3 separate regions of the Homo sapiens genome follow, and regions 2 and 3 are each linked to region 1. Evidence: promoter capture Hi-C in 16 types of primary human blood cells and fetal thymus (Javierre and others, 2016). All regions are on one chromosome and are shown on one strand. The core of a region is centred on a gene start or on the middle of the fragment in contact, and the rest is flanking DNA. Distances in the headings are between cores, read along the strand shown.

Evidence for each region. Contacts are between HindIII fragments. The CHiCAGO score rates a contact against its expected background, and 5 or more counts as called.
Region 2: a fragment that was not itself captured here is called in contact with the fragment with the promoter of TIMMDC1 in region 1 in 1 of 17 cell types (total CD4 T cells); the score reaches 5.8 in total CD4 T cells.
Region 3: a contact is called between the fragment with the promoter of HSPBAP1 here and the fragment with the promoter of TIMMDC1 in region 1, in 1 of 17 cell types (non-activated CD4 T cells). The highest score is 5.0, in non-activated CD4 T cells.

The regions. Positions count from the first base shown.
Region 1 is chr3:119,496,611-119,500,528 of GRCh38, reverse strand. It overlaps TIMMDC1 (translocase of inner mitochondrial membrane domain containing 1), which reads right to left and starts at 1,982. Exons shown (of 7, transcript NM_016589.4): 1 at 1,602-1,982. The coding sequence starts at 1,795. RefSeq lists an enhancer at 2,193-2,242. The HindIII fragment of the contact is 2,873 bases long and covers 1,458-3,918 here.
Region 2 is chr3:123,588,114-123,592,031 of GRCh38, reverse strand. The region is part of intron 2 of MYLK-AS1 (MYLK antisense RNA 1); the gene reads right to left. Among named protein-coding and RNA genes, the nearest start is that of MYLK-AS1, 4.6 kb to the right of the region's middle. RefSeq lists a silencer at 1,004-1,204. The HindIII fragment of the contact is 1,187 bases long and covers 1,320-2,506 here.
Region 3 is chr3:122,792,163-122,796,080 of GRCh38, reverse strand. HSPBAP1 (HSPB1 associated protein 1) reads left to right here and starts at 2,250. Exons shown (of 8, transcript NM_024610.6): 1 at 2,250-2,464. The coding sequence starts at 2,401. It overlaps SLC49A4 (solute carrier family 49 member 4), which reads right to left and starts at 1,012. Exons shown (of 9, transcript NM_032839.3): 1 at 546-1,012. The coding sequence starts at 888. RefSeq lists a silencer at 686-1,175. The HindIII fragment of the contact is 6,260 bases long and covers 1-3,918 here.

The sequences.
Region 1 (3,918 bases), core at 733-3,232:
CTCAGACAAAACGAAGCTATGGTGTTAGAATTAGGATAGTGGCAACTCCTGAAAAGACAATGACCGGAAAAGGCACAAGGGGAGCTTTTGGGATGTTACAATAGTTGCCATTTCTTTCTTAGTGCTGGGTACAGCTATGTTCAGTTTGTGAAAATTCATCCATCAGTATACTTAGGCACATTTTTCGAAATGCATTTCCTACTCCAATAAAAAGTTTTTTAAAAGGTGCTTTTGATGACTATTACACCCCTAGAAATAGGAAGAATTTGTGAGTTGGATAGAGAGACCAATATTTCCGTTTAAATCTTAAGTTAACTTTTAGAAATCACACCAACTCGTGAGATTTTAGGGCAATGTATGAAAGAATAAAAACGTGGATGTAAGACAAAAAATCTAAATTCTATTTTACTAAATAATTTCATGAAATACTCAGATAGGACTGTACTAATAAAAGCACTGGGCTGGGCACAGTAGCACACGCCTGTAGTCACAGCTAACTTAGGAGGCTGAGGTAGGACTTGAGCCCGAGTTCAAATCCAGCATAGCAACATAGCAAAGATCCTGGCTCTAAAAATAAACAAATAAATGTTTTTTTAAAAACGCACTGGGAAAGTTCACTATGCAGTGGGTGGCACATGCCAATCTAAAATAACAAGGAAAAACTACTATTTAATTCGATTTGTTACTCTCAAATGCATAAGAAGCTAGAACTGCTAATGAAGCTTCCAAGATGTCATCCTGAGACTGCTCTAACAAATAGCTGTCTTAAGTATTAAGTTACTATAAAATAATTGCCCTTCTAGGCCGGGCGCAGTCCAGCCGCGGTGGCTCAGGCCTGTAATCCCAGCACTTTGGGAGGCGGAAACAGGCAGATCACGTGAGGTCAGGAGTTCCAGACCAGCCTGGCGAATGGTGAAATCCTGTCTCTACTAAAAATACAAAAATTAGCTGGGCATGGTAGTGGGCAACTGTAATCCCAGCTACTCTGGAGGCTGAGGCAGGAGAACCGCTTGAACCTGGGAAGTGAAGAGTGCAGTGAGCCAAGATCGCACCACTGCACTCCAGCCTGGGCGATAGAGCGCGACTCAGTCTCGAAAAAAAAAAAAAAAAGAAAGAAAAATACGAGTTTGGGCTGGCGCGGTGGCTCACGCCTGTAATCCCAGCACTTTGGGAGGCCGAGGTAGGCGGATCGCCTAAGTCCAAGAGTTCAAGACCAGCCTAGGCAACATGGTAAGAACCCTGTCTATAAAAAATACATTAAAAAAAAATTAGCCGGGCGTGGTGGTGCGCGCCTGTAGTCCCAATTAATCGGGAGGCTGAGGTGGGAGGATCACTTGAGTCCCAGAGGCAGAGGTTGCAGTGAGCCGAGATAGCACCACAGCACTCCAGCCTGGGCGACAGAGCAAGACCCTGTCTGGAAAAAAAAAAAAAAAAAAGAAAGAAAAAAGATACAAGCTTGGGTTACAAATATCAGAACCTCAAATATAATCTAAAAATGAAGCACACCATCCTTGGTGTCCTAAGGCTGACCCAGGCTGCCCACGCTGCAGGACACCGCTTTCGCGGCCCCCTACCCCACTTCACACCCTAGGCACTTTTACTCTTTGCCAAACAGCTCCCGGAGGCGGTCCCATCCAGATTCCGGGTAATAGGGCTCTGGGACGTAGGGAAGCCGCTTCTGACGCTCCTCAAGGACTTCCGAATCGGCAGTCACAGCTTCGGCAGCAAAGACTCGGGGAAATAGGCACAATGCTCTACAGAGAAAGCTCCGCGGTGCCGGTGGCGGCACCTCCATGGCCTTCTCTCGACCTACGGACAAACTTGAGCGCTCAGGACTTCAAGTCCTCGCGGACGTGCCGCGGGAGAGCGTAACTGTACGAGGTGAGAATCCGTGCATTTGACCCAGGTTAACCCTCTGCCAGAGGGCTCGACACCCACACCTTCAGTCCCCGGCCTCGCTTTGGAGTCCTTGGAAATACGACACAGGAAGTCCCGCCCGACCGGGGCAAAGGCCAGGGGGCGGGGCGACGGCGAAGCCGGAGCCCAAAAGACTTCCGGTTGAGGGCGGGTTGGGCCACTGCTGTGCTGAGTGCACCCCCGGAAGTGAGTTGGCTGCCAGTAGTGAAGCTCAGCGTGGTCCCGGCAGGCCTTCGCTCCGTGTTTGTGGTTCCTGGGTCATGCAAACGGTGTCTGCGGCTACTTATATTCAGCTTGAGGTGGTCATAGGTTGAAGTAATTTATCGTATTTAAAATGCCAGGAATTAGCCGGGCATGGTGGCGGGCGCCTGTAATCCTAGCTACTCGGGAGGCTGAGGTAGGAGAATCGCTTGAACCCGGGAGGCGGAGGTTGCAGTGAGCCGAGATCACACCACTGCACTGCAGCCTGGGCAACAAGAGCGAAAATCTGTCTCAAAAAAAAAAAAAAAAGGCAGGAATCCCGCTTCAGTAAGGAAGAAAGTGCAATATTCAGTGCAAGTGGAGTAGGGAAAGAGGGAAAGGCGATTTGTGCAAAAACAAGTCCAACCTACTCTGCCAACATTAGAGAAGCCTTCCAGGCTGGGCGGGGTCCGTTTGTACCTTGTCAGTTCTGCTGGAAAAAAAACGAGGCATTGGGGATGGGTGTTGGTGCCAGTTACACTAAGATTTCGAGAACACTTTTTTGAAGAATCAGCTTTTTGGCAGGTCTTCCTAAGGTGGATTTCACTCCCTTTAGTTCATATGCCTACTGCTTCTCAAAAGGCAGGAGAATTTCTGGAATTTCTATCAAGTGTTTGTATAATTTGCCGTCACTACAACCTCTGCTAACATATGCTTCGAAGTACAGTTTTCATTAAAATGAATGCATTTAAAATATTCTCAATATTCGTGTAATTTCATTCAATCCTTGTTAACAAGCATACTCCCTTATTCATTTTGCCAATCCCTTCACCTCCTTGATTCCTTTCTAGTTGTCAATCAAAACTGCCACACTGTAGTAGAATACAGTAAGTGGACTTAGGAATTTGATAGCTGGAAATGCTACACATAAGTCCCTGAGAAGTGACTGACTAGAGTGACCAGCTCAATTAGTGACAGCGCCATGAAGACTACTCTGGGATATGAGATTTGATTCAGCACTCATCGTAGCACTTACAACACTGCATCATAATTTCCTATTAATCTGTCTCAATAAACTATCCTTGAGATCACAGACCAAATATATTCATCTCTGTATCTCCAGGACCTAGAACCGCAGTAGGTGCTCAGTAAATATTTGTTGAATAATTCAGATCTCCTGACTTCTGGCTCTGGATTACTGCTTATCCCATGTTAGGTAGAAGTGGGCACCAAGATAAGTTACCAAGGCCTGAAAGCCCAAGAAAATGGCTGTACAGTCTGTTTCTAACCTATATGTAGAAAAAGCTAAATGCATAAGATGACCCCAGAATTATTCTGGGGTGAAGGAGGACTTGAAATGGGTAGGAGGGTTTGGGTGGGTGTTGGGAAGATACTGACACAATCACTTATGTACAACTCAAATGCCCCAGGATTCACTAGCCTGTAGATGAGGTAATATTAACAGGCAAATTTTAAATTCCATAACTTGTTTCTCATTTGGGTAACGGAAGACTCATTTGTAATGTTCCTTTTGCCACCTGATAACTCAAAAAACTCCCCTCTCCTTTGGCTACTGCTCGCACTGTTGCTGCTCTTCCATCTGAGCCCTCCCACATTTCCTACTTCCCCAATCCCTTACGGCTTACCTTCTTTTAGAACAAGGGAAATGCTCACCCTCCTCTGTAGTCTGCTTATTTTATTTTATTTTTGATACAGTCTTAGCTTCGTCACCCAGGCTGGAGGGCAGTGGCAAGACCTCGGCTCACTGCAACCTCTGCCTCCTAAGTTCAAGTGATTCTTGTGCCTCAGCCTCCTGAGTAG
Region 2 (3,918 bases), core at 664-3,163, 4.1 Mb before region 1:
ATGAGATGTGGGTGGAAACACAGCGTAATTGTATCAACCATGATTGTAAATTTCCTGAGGCCTCCCAAGCTATGCAGAACTGTGAGTCAATTAAACATCTTTTCTTTATAAATTACCCAGTCTCAGGTAGTTCTTTATCGAAGTGTGAAAATGGACTAATACAGAAGATTGGTACTGGGAGTGGGGCACTGCTATAAAGATACCTCAATATGTTGAAGCAAGTGTGGAACTGGGTAACAGCAGAGGTCAGAACAGTTTGGAGGGCTCAGAAGAAGACATGGGGAAGATGTGGGAAAGTTGGGAACTTCCTAGAGAATTGTTGAATGATTTTGACCAAAATGCTGATAGTGATATGGACAATGAAGTCCAGGCTGAGATGGTCTTAGATGGAGACGAAGAACTTATTGGGAACTGGAGCAAAGGTCACTCTTGCTATGCTTTAGCAAAGAGACTGACAGCATTTTGCCCCTGCCTTAGAGATCTGTGGAACTTTAAACTTGAGACAGATGATTTAGGGTATCTGGTAGAATAAACTTCGAAGCACCAAAGCATTCAAGATGTCACATGGCTTTTTCTGAAAGCAAACGGTCACATGCGTTCACAAGGAGATGATCTGAAATTGGAACTTATGTTTAAAAGGGAAGCAGAGCATAAAAGTTTGGAAAATTTGCAGCCTGACCATGCAGTAGAAAACAAAGACCCATTTTCCAGGGAGATATTCAAGCAGGCTGCAGGAATTTGCACAAGTAACAAGGAGCTGAATGTTAATAGCTGAGACAATGGGGAAAAATGTCTCCAGGGAATTTCAGAGATCTTCAGGACAGCCCCTCCCATCACAGACCTAGAGGCCTAGGAGGGAAAAATAGTTTCCTGGGCTAGGCAGGCCCAGGGCTCTACTGCTGTGTGCAGCCTCAAGACATGGTGCCCTGTGTCCCAGCCACTCCACCTCATGGCTAAAAGGGGCCAAGGTACAGCTTGGGCCATTGCTTCAGAGGGTACAAGCCCCAAGCCCTGGCAGCTTTTATGTGGTGTTGGGCCTGCAAGTGTGCAGAAGCCAAGAGTTGAGGTTTAGAAACCTATGCCTAGATTTCAGAGGATGTATGGAAATGACTGGATGTCCAGTCAGAAGTCTGCTGCATGGGCGGAGCCCTCATGGAGAACCCCTACTAGTGCAGTGCAAAAGGGAAATGTGGGGTTGGAGCATCCACACAGAGTCCCCACTGGGGCAATACCTAGTGGATCTGAGAATAGGGCCACTGTCCTCCAGACCCCAGAATGGTAGATCCACCAACAGCTTGCACCCTGGACCTGGAAAAGCTTCAGGCACTCAACTCCAGCCCATGAAAGCAGCCTTTGGGACTGTACCCTGCAGAGCCACATGGCAAGAGCTGCCCAAAGCCTTAGGAGCTCACCTCTTCAATCAGCATGCACTGGATGTGAGACATGGAGTCAAAGGAGAGTATTTAAGAGGTTTAATATTTAATGACTGCCCAACCAGGTTTCAGACTTGCATGGGGCCTGTGGCCCCTTTGTTTTGGCCAATTTCTCCCATGTGGAATGAGAACATTTACCCAATGCCTGTACCCCCATTGTATCTTGGAAGTAACTAACTTGTTTTTGATTTTACAGGCTTGTAGGTGAAAGAGACTTGCCTTGTCTCAGATCAGACTTTGAACTTGGACTTTTGAGTTAATGCTGAAATGAGTTAAGACTTTGGGGTACTGTTGGGAAGGTATGATTGGAATAGCATGTGCAAATTCCCTGAGGCAAAAAAGGAGTACTGCTCGATGGAAGACCTAAGATGAGGCCAGTATGACTAGGAGGGGCATGGTGAGACTGAGGAGGCAGGTAGGGTCTAGTCTATGCAGATTTTTGTATACCATATTAAATATTTTATGCTTTATCCTAAGTGTCATCAAAAGCCATTTAAATATCTTCAGGGGTGGGGCAGAGGAAGGTAGTAGACACGAACAAGGTTGTATGTGGAAAAGATCACTTTGGCTGTACTGTAGAGCAGGGGTCCCCAACCTCTGGGCCACAGACTGGTACAGGTCCATGGCCTGTTAGGAACCCAGCCACACAGCAGGAGGTGAGCAGCAGGCAAGTGAGCATTACCACCTGATCTCCACCTCCTGCCAGACCAACAGCGGCATTAGATTCTCATAGGAACACGAGCCCTATCATGAACCATGCAGGCGAGGGATCTAGGTTGCAGGCTCCATCTAATGCCTGCTGATCTGAAGTGAAACAGTTTCATCCTGAAACCATTCCCTCCCCAGTCCATGGAAAAATTGTCTTCCATGAAACCAGTCCCTGGTGCCAAAAAGGTTGGAGATTGCTGCTATAAACAACAGACTGGAGTTGGGCCTAAGTGACTGCAAGAAGATACATTGAGTTTTAAACTGATTTCCAACTGAACAGAACTTTATGCATTCCTGCCTCCTCCTACTTTCCCATTAAGTAGATTATATTGAAAAAAAAATCAGTCAAATGAATGAAAGAAGCTTTTAGATGAATGATTATTTGGTTTTGTAAAATGGTTCACTTCTTTATTTCTTTTGCAAAGAAATTTTTTTGCCCTCTGATCACAGTGTGCAATTTGGGCTCACCAACTTGCTCTTTGAAAAATTCAGGAAGGTCGGGTGTGGTGGTTCATGCCTATAATCCCAGCATTTTGGGAGGCCGAGGCAGGTGGATCACCTGAGGTCACGAGTTCGAAACCAGCCTGGCCAACATGGCAAAATCCCGTCTCTACTAAACATACAAAAATTAGCTGGGCGTGGGGGCAGGCACCTGTAATCCCAGCTACTTGGAAGGCTGAGGCAGGAGAATTGCTTGAACCTGGGAGGCGGAGGTTGCAGTGAGCCAAGAGTGTGCCATTGCACTCCAGTCTGGGGGACAAGAGCAAGACTTCGTCTCCAAAAAAAAAAAATTTCAGGAAAACAAGGCAACAGAATCTCTGAACAATCTGCCATGGCGGGAAAGGATGGGACCCTGACAATTGTCAACTTATGCCTCTCACTTCATCTCTTGAGGTCTTGAAACTTCTTTTGCAAAAATTGTAACAGTGAGAAAATTATGACTGAGAGAGATCTGATCTAACCAGCCCCCACCTTGACTCTGTAAATCAAAGAACACGATCAAGGCAAGTCTCAATCATTTTAGGAGGTTTATTTGCCATAGTAAAGGATGCATGCCAGGGAGGCAGGTATATGCCTATCTCCAAAGATGATTTTGAGGGCTTCAGTACTTAAAGGGGAAAGGGTGGATACTGGGGGAAGAGAAATTTTTTTTTTTTTTTGAGACAGAGTCTCGCTCTGTCACCAGGCTGGAGTGCAGCGGCGCAATCTCGGCTCACTGCAACCTCCAACTCCAAGCGATTCTCTTGCCTCAGTCTCCCAAGTAGCTGGGACTACAGGCGCGCACCACCACACCCAGCTAATTTTTGTATTTTTAGTAAAGATGGGGTTTCACCATACTGGCCAGGCTGGTCTCAAACTCCTGACCTCCTGATCTGCCTGCCTGGCCTCCCAAAGTGCTGGGATTACAGGCGTGAGCCACCACGCCCAGCCAAGAAATATTTTTAAATTGTGTCAGTAGATAAAAAGATAAAACAGTTGCATCCTTTTGAATACACAATTTTCATGTGAGTGGGGAGTGGAGGAAATATTCATGCCTTAGTCTGGCTCAGTTAATCTGTATTTTTACATAAGATAACGTAGACAATAGGGCAGAGGAAGCAATCAGATATGCATTTGTCTCAGGTGAGGAGAGGGAAGACTTTGAATTCTGTCCTATGTCCCATACCTGTGAAGATATCAACTTACATTGCCAGGTTGAAATTCAACAGAACTGTTTTAGAGTAAAGATCTTTGGGCCTAAAAGGAATTTCCTTGTGGGTAAAATGTGAGGGAAGTA
Region 3 (3,918 bases), core at 1,001-3,500, 3.3 Mb before region 1:
TAGTCACATACACACATTTTAAAGCTGCCGAGCACCACCTTCCAGAAACCAAAGTGTCAGATCTGAGTTTCCCAATAGCTCTTCCTGGGCTGGAGTCATCTATTACACAAAACGAACTCATTATTTCCTTACATATGGGCACCGTCAATCTATTTTCCGACCTTTCATCCTCAACATCCCCATATCCCTTTGAAGTCAAAGCATCAGTCATTTTTGTCAGGTGTAAAACACATACACCGCACGTGCACGGGGATGCTCTGATGTTCACAATGTGTAAAAACTTGAACGTTTAGAGATCGCTTAAATCCCTGGTGTTGCATAAAGGGCCTTGATAAAAAACATAAATATTTGCAAGGTTGCCTTTCCATATTTGTCGCTTTGGGGACGGAGGGTTCCTAAGTCAGAAATGGAATGCTAGCAACACTCTATCACCTCACACAACCCCTATGCCGGGGCCAAGGGAGGCGGCTGGCAGGCCTGGAGCGCGGGCAGGCGCCTGCTCCCGGAGGAGAGACAGCGCGGGCTGGCGCTCCGCGACCCCTCACCTCTCTTGTCCAGGAGCCACATGAACGCGAAGCAGGGCAGGAAGCCGATGGGCCCCCACAGCACGAGCAGCGCGATGTCCCAGCTGGAGAAGCCGTAGGCCTGGCGCGCCGAGTTCTGGATGGGACCCCAGGTGTTCCAGACCAGGCCCTGAACGAACGCCAGCAGCGAGAAGAGCAGCAGCACCAGCCAGCGGCGCCCGTATACCCGCCCGGGACCCGGGACCGCCGCGGGCAGCGCCGCCGCCGCCGCCTCCCGGCTTCTCCAGGAGGCCCCCAGCCCAGGCCCGAGCCCGGGCCCCAGCAGCGGCTGCCTCTCCTCTTCGCTGCTCCAGCGAGAGCCCATGGCGACGCGTCGCCCGCGAAGCCACTGCCGGGCGCAGTCCGGGTCACCGCCGACTAGCCCAGCGCAGAATAGTCCTGAGCAGCAGGAGGCGGAGGCTGCTGTGGTCGCCCTCGGCCTCCGGACCGCGCCTGGTGCGCCTGCGCGGCCCGAGCCGGGCCGGCGGGGAGGCGGGGAGGCGGGGCAGGCGGCAAGGAGGCTGGGGTCCGCCCTCCCCTCCGCGGGTGGCGAGGAAACACCGGCGAGAGGAAAGGAGCCAGGTCCCAGACGGAGGGCAGGTAGCGCTGAAAAGGCAGGGACCAGCGCGGCTGAGTCGGGGAGAGGGAAACTCCCAGAGAGGCTGTATTCGAGGAGGTTGGGCAAGGAACCCTGGGGTGTTTGGAGGAAGTGTCCAAGTTAAATCTTGTGCCTAATAAACAACTCAGTGACCTGTTAAGTGACGTCAGTTAACCTGATGCTTGCTTCTATTTTGGGCTTATTCTCATTTTTGTTGAGTTAGTAACTTCAGAAATTATAGGCGAAGGATAAAGTTTAAGCGTAGTTGGTCCCAGGGGATTATCTCATAAAAATCATTTCTTACGTGCAATAAGTACTACCTATTTTTGTTACTTTTTTGTCTTACATATCCAAAGAGGAGATTCCAAACTAGCCAATTTCATTCATATATATGTAAACTTTACCCATTTCGCCTGCCAATAGGCGAGCAATAAAGGTATGTCCAGTAAAGTTGGAAGATTTTTGCCCCAAAGATCCATCTCCAGTGATTATGATTTGACCACAGGGTAAACGAGAAGAAAGGTGGTTGTTGATCTCTTCACACAGCTGTTTGTTTATTTTGGTATACAAATTCAGAAGCCTGACAGCTGTGGATTAGTGTCCTTGAAAACCTAAAGTCAAGCAATTTGGCTTGTCTGGATCGGGAAATGAGTCACAGGGAACGCAATCACAGGATTCTTTGCCCGAGGTTCGTATTTCCCGGCAGCCACTAAAATCAGAAGGAGTCAGGTTACCACCAGAAGGGCAAGAGAGGTGTAAGAGAAGCGTGAGCTAGCCTCGCATTCCAGGCTGCCAAGAGCGGCTCGCGAAAGCTCACGGCAGAGACCCATCCCACCGCCGGAGCCCCACTAAGCGGCAAACCTTCCCCTAAAACTCCAATCCTTTAGGGTGGAGAAAAGCCGAGGTGGAAAGGAAGGATCTGACTAGAAAAGGAGAAACAGAAACGAAGCTAAGACTACAATAAAGAACGCTAAGGTCCGGGTTAGGTAAAAAGCGCCACAACTCAGACCACGTGTTTGTATTTCCACACCCGGGGTATCAAAACAAAGCTGCGTGGTCCCGCCCAGCATCCGTCACGTGACCTCCACGTGAGAGCCGGCGTTTCCGTAGGAGCCGGGCGGGAGTCGCCGGGGCTCCTTCCTGTGGTGCAGCTTCGGGTCTCGGAGTTTGGCCCCTACTCTGACCCCACCCCAGCTCCGCTCCGCCTTGGGTTCCGGCAGAACCCGCCTTGCGGTAGCCATGGCAGCAGGCTCCGAGGCGACCACTCCTGTGATCGTTGCGGCTGGGGCTGGAGGGGAGGAAGGTAGGTGCCAGGCTGAGGTCCGACCCTGAGTACAAACCCAATGCCAGTTGACTCTCGTGGCACCCCTCGTGGGGCCGTTTGCCTTAGCCCCAACCCAGGTCTCTCTGGCCTTGCATTAGACTATGAAGAAAAATCTATATTTTCTAGTGAGCGTGGCATTTCTCGAATTGTGGCATCCAGATTTTTGATCGTCGTAGGGTAGCCTACGAGTGCTGTTTCACGCATGGGGTGTTATTTTTGTTTTGTTTTGTTTTATATTTGCCCATCATTAGCTAAATAGAGGTGTTTTGAACGTTTAGAGGGGATTAAAATTAAATTTGTGAAATTGAAGGCAACCTTTGAGATTAATGGAAGTTATCTGAGACTTTTGTGAACAGGGATTATGCGCTTTTATTCTATTTCAGTGAACCCTGGTTTAGCAAGTGGGGATGAGGTTTGGAGGCCCATGAGCCTGAGATCCCTGTTATTATTTATTGAATGATTGCACCGTGCAGGGCTGTGTTCTGAATACTGTCGCAGGATCCAGAGACTTTTGAATATTTATAACAATACCTTTTCCAAAGGAGCCTAGAAAGGAAAAAGAATGACTTACTATGTGGTCACCTGAACTATTCTACCAGTAGTACACTCTGTGAGGGTTGTTAGGAGGAGGGATCTCAGTGGGGAGAACATAAATGCTTCAAGGAGCGAATAGTTTGAGGTCGGCCTTTCTTTTTCTTTTCTCTCTTTTTTTTTTTTTCTTTTTTTGAGACGGAGTCTCGCTCTGTCACCAGGCTGGAGTGCAGTGGCGCGATTTTGGCTCACTGCAACCTCCACCTCCCAGGTTCAAGCAATTCTTCTGCCTCAGCGTCCCAAGCAGCTGGGACTACAAGCGTGCCACCACGCCCAGCTAATTTTTGTATTTTTAGTAGAGACGGGGTTTCACCATGTTGGCCAGGATGGTCTCGCTCTCTTGACCTTGTGATCCGCTGAGGTGGGCCTTTCTGATTGGATGAGATGGTGACAAACTCAGGGAGTGGTGCTGGGGTTCAGGAAGTCAGGGAGCAGAAAAGGATGGATGTATTTAGGGGTCAAACAGTTTGCTGAAGGGGGAGATGCCCATTCCAAGCAGAAGAAACAAATTATAGCCTCCTACTATCTGACCACTTTCTACCAGGGAGACAATTCTTGACCTTCATCTATACCTCCATTGCATTGATCTTTCCATTTTCTATCCACTGCACCCCCTTATCCAGAATGTATGTCGTTCCTTTGAAAAATTCTCTTGTCCCTTCCTGCACTTTTTTCTGACAAAACTCTTACTCTGGATGAAGTCAACCTTTTGCCCTCTTTGTACCTGCACCCGTGGGCCTGAACTTTGCTGGAAAAAGTCCTGCACAAACTGATGACCGTATAAAGTGAAAATGGCCAAACTCTTGAATATTCAGTCAGTATGGGCTTGAGATCCCTCTGAT